2 separate regions of the Homo sapiens genome follow, and region 2 is linked to region 1. Evidence: promoter capture Hi-C in human tissues and cell types (Jung and others, 2019). All regions are on one chromosome and are shown on one strand. The core of a region is centred on a gene start or on the middle of the fragment in contact, and the rest is flanking DNA. Distances in the headings are between cores, read along the strand shown. Region 1 holds the start of CFL1 (cofilin 1). Region 2 holds the start of CD248 (CD248 molecule).

Region 1 (3,795 bases), core at 1,296-3,795:
ACGCCCGCGGGACTGGGACGCCGCCAGTTCTGGAGTCGGGATTCGAACACCTGGCCCAGGGCGGGGCGGGGGAAGAGGGAGACCGAGGGCAGGACCGTTGAGATCACGGGGCCCCAAACACAGGGGGCACTAACGAGAGGAGAGCCTGCGGCCGCCCTCCCACCCCTGCGCTGCTCTAAGTGGTTGGTCAGGGGCGCTGTCTCTAACGATCTTTTCCCTTGGCTCCACTCCAGCCAGCCTTTGAGACGCGCCCTTTCCCAGCCCCCGGAGCCTGGACCGGCTCCTTCCTGTCACCCCAGATTCGAGAGCGGGGTCTTTGTGTAGGCGAGAGGAAGGCGGACAGCGCCCCCTGTGACGGGGAGGACTGGCTGGGCGGCGCTTAACGGACTAACCTGAGCTTGGCGGCTCTAAGGTCTCTTAAGATTGTCAGCTTCAGCCTCAAGCTTGAAGGAGGCTGGAGATGGAGACTGGTCTTGAAAAGAGTCCAGGAGAGGCGGGGGCTAGGAGACAAACGGGTGCAAACGTATTGGTGGGAGGGACACCCAGAAATGGGTGCCGGGGATGAGGACACAAAGGTAAGGCAGGAGGAGCTGCAGGACCCTTGGAGGAAATGGTGATCCTCATCCCCGGGATACAGGGCAAAGAGTGTGTGGTGGAGAGGAAGTCGGGGACGTGCCGAGAAGGCCCAAAATAGAACTCGGAATGTCGGGGGTCAGAGGCCTAGAGGAAGGAGGACTGTAAGTAAGAGGTGCTTGGGCATCCTGGCAGTTGGGGAGGCCTGAGATGGGCACGCGGTTGGGTTTGGGAGCGGAGGAGCAGGCTGCGGGTTAAGAAGCCCAGACACAGGTAGAGGGGAGAACACTTCGTCATTTTTGTGGCTAATCGGAAGTGGGAGACCCTCAGGGAGGTTGAAGATGGAAACCCTACAAAGGGCTTCAACCTGAGAAGCCTGAAAGACACGTATAGCTGAGTTGGACACAGGCGACCCGCCAGGGTTTGAAGCAGCACCCGGCCTCTAGCTGCTATGCCGGAAGTCGCAACACGCAGGTCTCCAGCCTGCGAGGAAGGGAGAGGTGGGCGCCAGAGCTCCAGTCCCGCCCCTCAGGACTGTGCCTAGCCCACGGCGCAGTAGCCCCAGCCAAGCTAAATTGGACCAATGGGCTCCGGCTCCCGCCTCCCGCCCGCCGCGGCCTTATAAGGAGCCTCAAGCCGGCTGTCGGGCTGGCCCCGCCCCCTCGAGTCTCTTGTCCTAATAAGGACATCTAGGGCATCCCGCGGCTGGGGGCGGGCGAGAGCGCGTCTCCAGGGTAACTGCGAAGCCCCCCTCTCTCTCCCCGTTGCTCTTGGAAACTCTAAGGCTCAGAAAAGGGGGCGCTAGCCTCATATTCATGTAGGGTCGCTCGCGGGAGGCGGGGTCAAGCTGCTGTCTCCACCTGGAGCGCCGGGAGTCCGGGCGGGGGCGGTGCTGTGGAATGTCCCCGACTACAACCCCCGGTATGCTCTGCAAGGTACCCCACTCCCAGGCATCGCTCTCCGTTTACACCCTTAATTCCGTTTATAGGATTAGGGCCCCCAGTTCCCTTTCTGGGTTTGCCTCTGACTTGTTTGCGACCCAGTCTTTTCCTGCAGAGTGTGAGGCTGTGGTCACTGTTCTAGAACAACAAAATCATCCCGGAGTCCCCCGCTCGTTTCTTTTTTTTTTTAAGGCATATACTACCACAGAACTTGTCTCAGTTTTGCGGATGTTAGAATAACCATGTACCTGGCTATCAACTCGAGAGCTGGGTTCAAGTCTGGTTTAATATCTATTTCTTCTCATTGGCACGTAAAGGCATGTAAAGAAGCCTTGAATTGAATGCACAAACCCTCGTCTTTACCCTTTAACGCCTCATGACTTTGCCAAACATCTTTAAACAAGAACAAAGCTCTCAGAGATTTCCTTGTACCTTTCCCCTGTGCCTTTTCCTCCTATTCTTGTTTTACTGACGTTGGACATGGCCTTTTTTCAGGAGACGAGAGTGGCTTTACACATGCAGAGTACTAGTGTTTATCCGACTGACGACGCCTTCATACTTGTGATTTCCTTTGCTTTAGGTCGGGATTCCAGGCTAATCAATAGTTGCTTCGATTCAGAAATGCAAAACCCTAACCTCACTCAAAAATTTCAGGCCAAGGGATCCAGATAATACCAGATGGGTCTTAAGAAAGCCGTTTTGCTGTGGGATAAAGAGCCGCTTAGTCGGGGATCGTTTTCGGGTCATTTTACTGAGCGCCGCCTCGCCGGGCTCAGAGCGGTTCCTGGGAAATTGGACCAATGGGCTCGCGCTGCGCGCTGCGGTGCCGCCCAGGACCTGGGCCTACATTTCCCTACATGCACTGCAGCTCGGAGCCGGCCGGCGGGAAGACTCCGTTACCCAGCGAGCGAGGCGGCGGCGCAGGGCCAGCGGACTCCATTTCCCGTCGGCTCGCGGTGGGAGCGCCGGAAGCCCGCCCCACCCCTCATTGTGCGGCTCCTACTAAACGGAAGGGGCCGGGAGAGGCCGCGTTCAGTCGGGTCCCGGCAGCGGCTGCAGCGCTCTCGTCTTCTGCGGCTCTCGGTGCCCTCTCCTTTTCGTTTCCGGAAACATGGTGAGCGGCAGGCCACGGCGCCTGAGGGAGGCGGCTGCGGGTCGGTCGCCTGCGCGCGGGAAGCGACTGGGGAGCGACGTCCGCACCCCCTCCCCCAGCGCCCCGGGCGGGATGAGGGTCTCGCACGAAGGGGCGGGCGGTGCCGGAATGCGCGTGCGCGCCCGTGGGCGCCGGGGAGGGCCGGTCTGGACGTCGCTCGCGCTCCGCCTGGGCTCCCCTCCCCCACCCGCTGGTGCGCCCGCGCGGACACCGGCCGCGGGGGGAGGGGTTCGGGGCGCGCGCTGGGGCGCCCCTCGCGGAACGGCCGGCGTCGCGCCTTTCTTCTTAGGGGCGCGCTCTCGACTGGAGCATGCGGCGTCCAAACCCGGCCCGGGGGCGGCGAGGAAAAAGCGCGCGAGAGGTCTCGGCGCGCGCGCCCCACCCAAGGCTGTTCCTGTCTGCGCGTCACCCTCCCTCGGCAGCCGGGTCCGTCTCGGGAGCAGGTGGCAGGGATGCCTGCGCCCGGGAGGGGCGGGTGCTGGCGCGGCGAGGGGTGATGCTGGGAAGACGGGGTCCCGGTTGGGGCGTGGGTGCCTGCGATTAAGGCCTTGCACCGCAAGGCTTGGAGGGGGCATCGCAGAGACCGCGGCCCGTTCGGGAGCGCATCTAACGAGCTGCGTTCTCACCCGTGCATCGGGCGAGGGCTGGAACGGCGCTGTCTGTCGGCGCGTGCGCGCACGCTCAGGCCCGGCCGCCGGTGCCGAAGCCCTGGGCCAGCGAGGCCTTCCCGGATGGGCCTGAGTGAGGGTGGAGCCGAGTTTAGGGAAGTGACCCAGGCGGGCACCGCCCGGAAACCACCCCGCCCCCTGTATACGGCCCGAGGGCTGAGAAAACCGAAGGTTATGTAGCTTGCCCAGGCTCCTGCCTGCAGGAGATGGGTCTGATACACCCGTTGTTTTAGGGCGATTCCACAGGGTTAGGGACCTGGAGATGCTGCTGCCTCTCGGATACGCGTTTCTGCATTGGTGAGGGGGCCGGGCCCAGCCGATCTCCTGTCCCCGCCCACTCCGGATGCGGCCGAGTCACGTGGCCGGCTTCTTCTGCAGTTCCGGGGAGTTTGGGGGACCAGATTTACCTTGGATTGCCCCTCCCTCTCCTGGCTCGGGCACCCCGAAGCACGACGCAGAG
Region 2 (4,290 bases), core at 896-3,395, 460 kb before region 1:
AGGCAGAGTGTCTGGAGCATTTAAGGAACAGCAATGAGGCCAGAGTTTGGAGGCAGATGACATAGACCAGGAGGCCATGGCAAGGACTGTGGCCCTTCCTCTAAGCGAGATGGGGGGCTCAGAGGGTTCTGAATGGAGAAGTGATCAGATCTGACTTGGATTTTGAAAGGATCCCTCTGGCAGGATGGAGAGGGCAAGAGAGACACCACGGGAGAGGCTGTTGGGGAAATCTAGATTGGCGTTGCTAGCCACCTGGGCCGGGGGTGGGTGGCAAAGAAGGTGTCCAGGAGTGGTCAGATTCTGGATCTCTTTTGAAAGTGAAGCCAACAGGATTTGCTGAGAGACTGGATGTGGGCTGTGGGAGAAAGAGAGGAGTCAAGCATGACCTCAAGGTTTGGGGCCTGAGCCAACAGAAGGATGAACTCCTCCATCTTGACTTTTGTCTCCTGAGAAGGGGAGTCATTCTGTGTGCTTCACATGTATAGACCTTGTAAGAAGGAACTTCCAGGCATATGGCAAGAACTTCCTAAGCCCTGGTTCTCGAGGGGCTGGCTGGGTCTGCAGGGCCAGCCTAGGCACTGTAAGGTGGTTTGCAAAAACGCACCCTGGTCTCCACCCACCACATATGCTCAGAAGACAGGAACATTTGCTTCAGGCTCCACAGCTGACAAAGCACATTTGCAAACACTGAGCGCTGTGACGCAATATCTCAGCCCTGCTGAGCTAAAAATCCTGGACTCATTGCCCTCATGTTGCAACTGAGAAAAAAGGAGACCCAGAGAGGGCCAGTGACTCCCCTGCAGTCACAAAGTCGATCCATCTGTGGCAGAGGGGGAAGCTGCATCAGGGCAGTTTACTGAAGGGCGGAACCTCTCCCCCACCTCCCCACACTGTTTCTAACTTCTGCTAAGAGTGCAGCGGGTGTGCATGGGTTAATCCGCCAGCCAGCTCCCCAGAGGCCATCCTGGATGATGGGCTCAGTGCACATGCCTCCAGAGGCCTCCAGGAAGGGCGGGAAGAGGACCCTGGCCAGGCCGAAACAGCAGGCCCCGGGGGCAGGGAGGGCTCCACACACGTGATGCCTGTGTCACATATACACATATATGTCACTGTGTGCCCCATGCCCATACATGGCCTTGCATGGGTCCCCTCACAGCCTTCCACATCCTGCGTGCAGCCCAGCCCCCACCCAGCCCCCTAAACCACGCACCCTGCCTTCCTGACGCAGGAGCCCAGAGAGGCATTTCCTGTTTAGGGGCTGCCTCCTCCCCCTCTAAGCCCAGGTTCCCAGGGCCCCAGGCTGAGCTGGGGTGAGGGGAGGGCAGCCCCTGGCCCCCTCACTCCCCCAACACCCCCACACGCTGGCCCAGCTGGAACCAGAAAGCTTGAGTATAGGGGGAGAGGCTGACGCAGGGGCTCAGTAAATAAATGAGAGGCTGAGGATGCCTGTGCCTGGGTGACCAAGCTGTTTCCATTCAGGCCGAATCGGAGGTCTTCATATGTCAGGCCATGTAGAATGCCACACCATTTTTGTATGTGCACCTAGGGTCTCAGCATGTCAGAATGTGTGTACGTGTGGCAAGGGAGTCATCTGCAAGCCAGCATAGGTCCACGGTGAGGTGAAGGGACAAACAGCTTGGCAGAGAGTGCACTCTTGCATGGGGTTGGGGGTGGGGGAGGCGCATGCGCGCGTCTGTGGGGCAAGAAAGGAGTGGGCATGAGGGTGTTCCCGTGCATGGCGAGCAGCTGGGCTGAGACTGCTCCCGGGTGTGATGGGGCTGCTGTGTCCAGATTTGGGTCTCTGAGTCTCTGGGAAGCGACCTCACCCCACAGCCCCGAGCCCCAACTTGAGGGTCACAGAGCTCGGCAGGCAGGCTTTTCCCACCCCCTGACTCTCAGCCCCATGGGGCCTGGGGCAGCCGTCAACTGCGCCTTCTCCCCTCCTCCGCCCCCAACCTTAGAGCCCCCCACCCCACTGCTTCCTGCTCTAGCGGCCCCCGGGGAAGAGGGAGCAGGGAGCTGGCAGCCGCCCCAGCCCACTCCTTACAAGGCCTGAGCCCGGCCCCAGGCCCGCCCCCGGCCCGCCCGCAGGAGGCCCCAGGCCCTCCCCCTGTCAAGAGCTGCCGCCAGCCCGGGGCCGGACCAGTCCGGGGGCATCGCGATGCTGCTGCGCCTGTTGCTGGCCTGGGCGGCCGCAGGGCCCACACTGGGCCAGGACCCCTGGGCTGCTGAGCCCCGTGCCGCCTGCGGCCCCAGCAGCTGCTACGCTCTCTTCCCACGGCGCCGCACCTTCCTGGAGGCCTGGCGGGCCTGCCGCGAGCTGGGGGGCGACCTGGCCACTCCTCGGACCCCCGAGGAGGCCCAGCGTGTGGACAGCCTGGTGGGTGCGGGCCCAGCCAGCCGGCTGCTGTGGATCGGGCTGCAGCGGCAGGCCCGGCAATGCCAGCTGCAGCGCCCACTGCGCGGCTTCACGTGGACCACAGGGGACCAGGACACGGCTTTCACCAACTGGGCCCAGCCAGCCTCTGGAGGCCCCTGCCCGGCCCAGCGCTGTGTGGCCCTGGAGGCAAGTGGCGAGCACCGCTGGCTGGAGGGCTCGTGCACGCTGGCTGTCGACGGCTACCTGTGCCAGTTTGGCTTCGAGGGCGCCTGCCCGGCGCTGCAAGATGAGGCGGGCCAGGCCGGCCCAGCCGTGTATACCACGCCCTTCCACCTGGTCTCCACAGAGTTTGAGTGGCTGCCCTTCGGCTCTGTGGCCGCTGTGCAGTGCCAGGCTGGCAGGGGAGCCTCTCTGCTCTGCGTGAAGCAGCCTGAGGGAGGTGTGGGCTGGTCACGGGCTGGGCCCCTGTGCCTGGGGACTGGCTGCAGCCCTGACAACGGGGGCTGCGAACACGAATGTGTGGAGGAGGTGGATGGTCACGTGTCCTGCCGCTGCACTGAGGGCTTCCGGCTGGCAGCAGACGGGCGCAGTTGCGAGGACCCCTGTGCCCAGGCTCCGTGCGAGCAGCAGTGTGAGCCCGGTGGGCCACAAGGCTACAGCTGCCACTGTCGCCTGGGTTTCCGGCCAGCGGAGGATGATCCGCACCGCTGTGTGGACACAGATGAGTGCCAGATTGCCGGTGTGTGCCAGCAGATGTGTGTCAACTACGTTGGTGGCTTCGAGTGTTATTGTAGCGAGGGACATGAGCTGGAGGCTGATGGCATCAGCTGCAGCCCTGCAGGGGCCATGGGTGCCCAGGCTTCCCAGGACCTCGGAGATGAGTTGCTGGATGACGGGGAGGATGAGGAAGATGAAGACGAGGCCTGGAAGGCCTTCAACGGTGGCTGGACGGAGATGCCTGGGATCCTGTGGATGGAGCCTACGCAGCCGCCTGACTTTGCCCTGGCCTATAGACCGAGCTTCCCAGAGGACAGAGAGCCACAGATACCCTACCCGGAGCCCACCTGGCCACCCCCGCTCAGTGCCCCCAGGGTCCCCTACCACTCCTCAGTGCTCTCCGTCACCCGGCCTGTGGTGGTCTCTGCCACGCATCCCACACTGCCTTCTGCCCACCAGCCTCCTGTGATCCCTGCCACACACCCAGCTTTGTCCCGTGACCACCAGATCCCCGTGATCGCAGCCAACTATCCAGATCTGCCTTCTGCCTACCAACCCGGTATTCTCTCTGTCTCTCATTCAGCACAGCCTCCTGCCCACCAGCCCCCTATGATCTCAACCAAATATCCGGAGCTCTTCCCTGCCCACCAGTCCCCCATGTTTCCAGACACCCGGGTCGCTGGCACCCAGACCACCACTCATTTGCCTGGAATCCCACCTAACCATGCCCCTCTGGTCACCACCCTCGGTGCCCAGCTACCCCCTCAAGCCCCAGATGCCCTTGTCCTCAGAACCCAGGCCACCCAGCTTCCCATTATCCCAACTGCCCAGCCCTCTCTGACCACCACCTCCAGGTCCCCTGTGTCTCCTGCCCATCAAATCTCTGTGCCTGCTGCCACCCAGCCCGCAGCCCTCCCCACCCTCCTGCCCTCTCAGAGCCCCACTAACCAGACCTCACCCATCAGCCCTACACATCCCCATTCCAAAGCCCCCCAAATCCCAAGGGAAGATGGCCCCAGTCCCAAGTTGGCCCTGTGGCTGCCCTCACCAGCTCCCACAGCAGCCCCAACAGCCCTGGGGGAGGCTGGTCTTGCCGAGCACAGCCAGAGGGATGACCGGTGGCTGCTGGTGGCACTCCTGGTGCCAACGTGTGTCTTTTTGGTGGTCCTGCTTGCACTGGGCATCGTGTACTG

Evidence for each region. The method cuts DNA at HindIII sites, captures the fragments that hold promoters and counts their contacts. A contact is called where the count stands out against the background at its distance.
Region 2: the fragment with the promoter of CD248 here is called in contact with the fragment with the promoter of CFL1 in region 1 in 1 of the 25 tissues and cell types used here (spleen).

The regions. Positions count from the first base shown.
Region 1 is chr11:65,856,930-65,860,724 of GRCh38, reverse strand. CFL1 (cofilin 1) reads left to right here and starts at 2,545. Exons shown (of 4, transcript NM_005507.3): 1 at 2,545-2,628. The coding sequence starts at 2,626. MUS81 (MUS81 structure-specific endonuclease subunit) reads right to left here and starts at 292. Exons shown (of 16, transcript NM_025128.5): 1 at 1-292. RefSeq lists silencers at 1-39, 1,090-1,169, 2,580-2,979 and enhancers at 1-269, 1,340-1,429, 1,990-2,059, 2,450-2,499, 2,433-2,973 and 2 more. The HindIII fragment of the contact is 15,299 bases long and covers 1-3,795 here.
Region 2 is chr11:66,314,899-66,319,188 of GRCh38, reverse strand. CD248 (CD248 molecule) reads left to right here and starts at 2,145. Exons shown (of 1, transcript NM_020404.3): 1 at 2,145-4,290. The coding sequence starts at 2,162. RefSeq lists enhancers at 1-143, 2,700-3,396 and a silencer at 1,947-2,216. The HindIII fragment of the contact is 8,045 bases long and covers 1-4,290 here.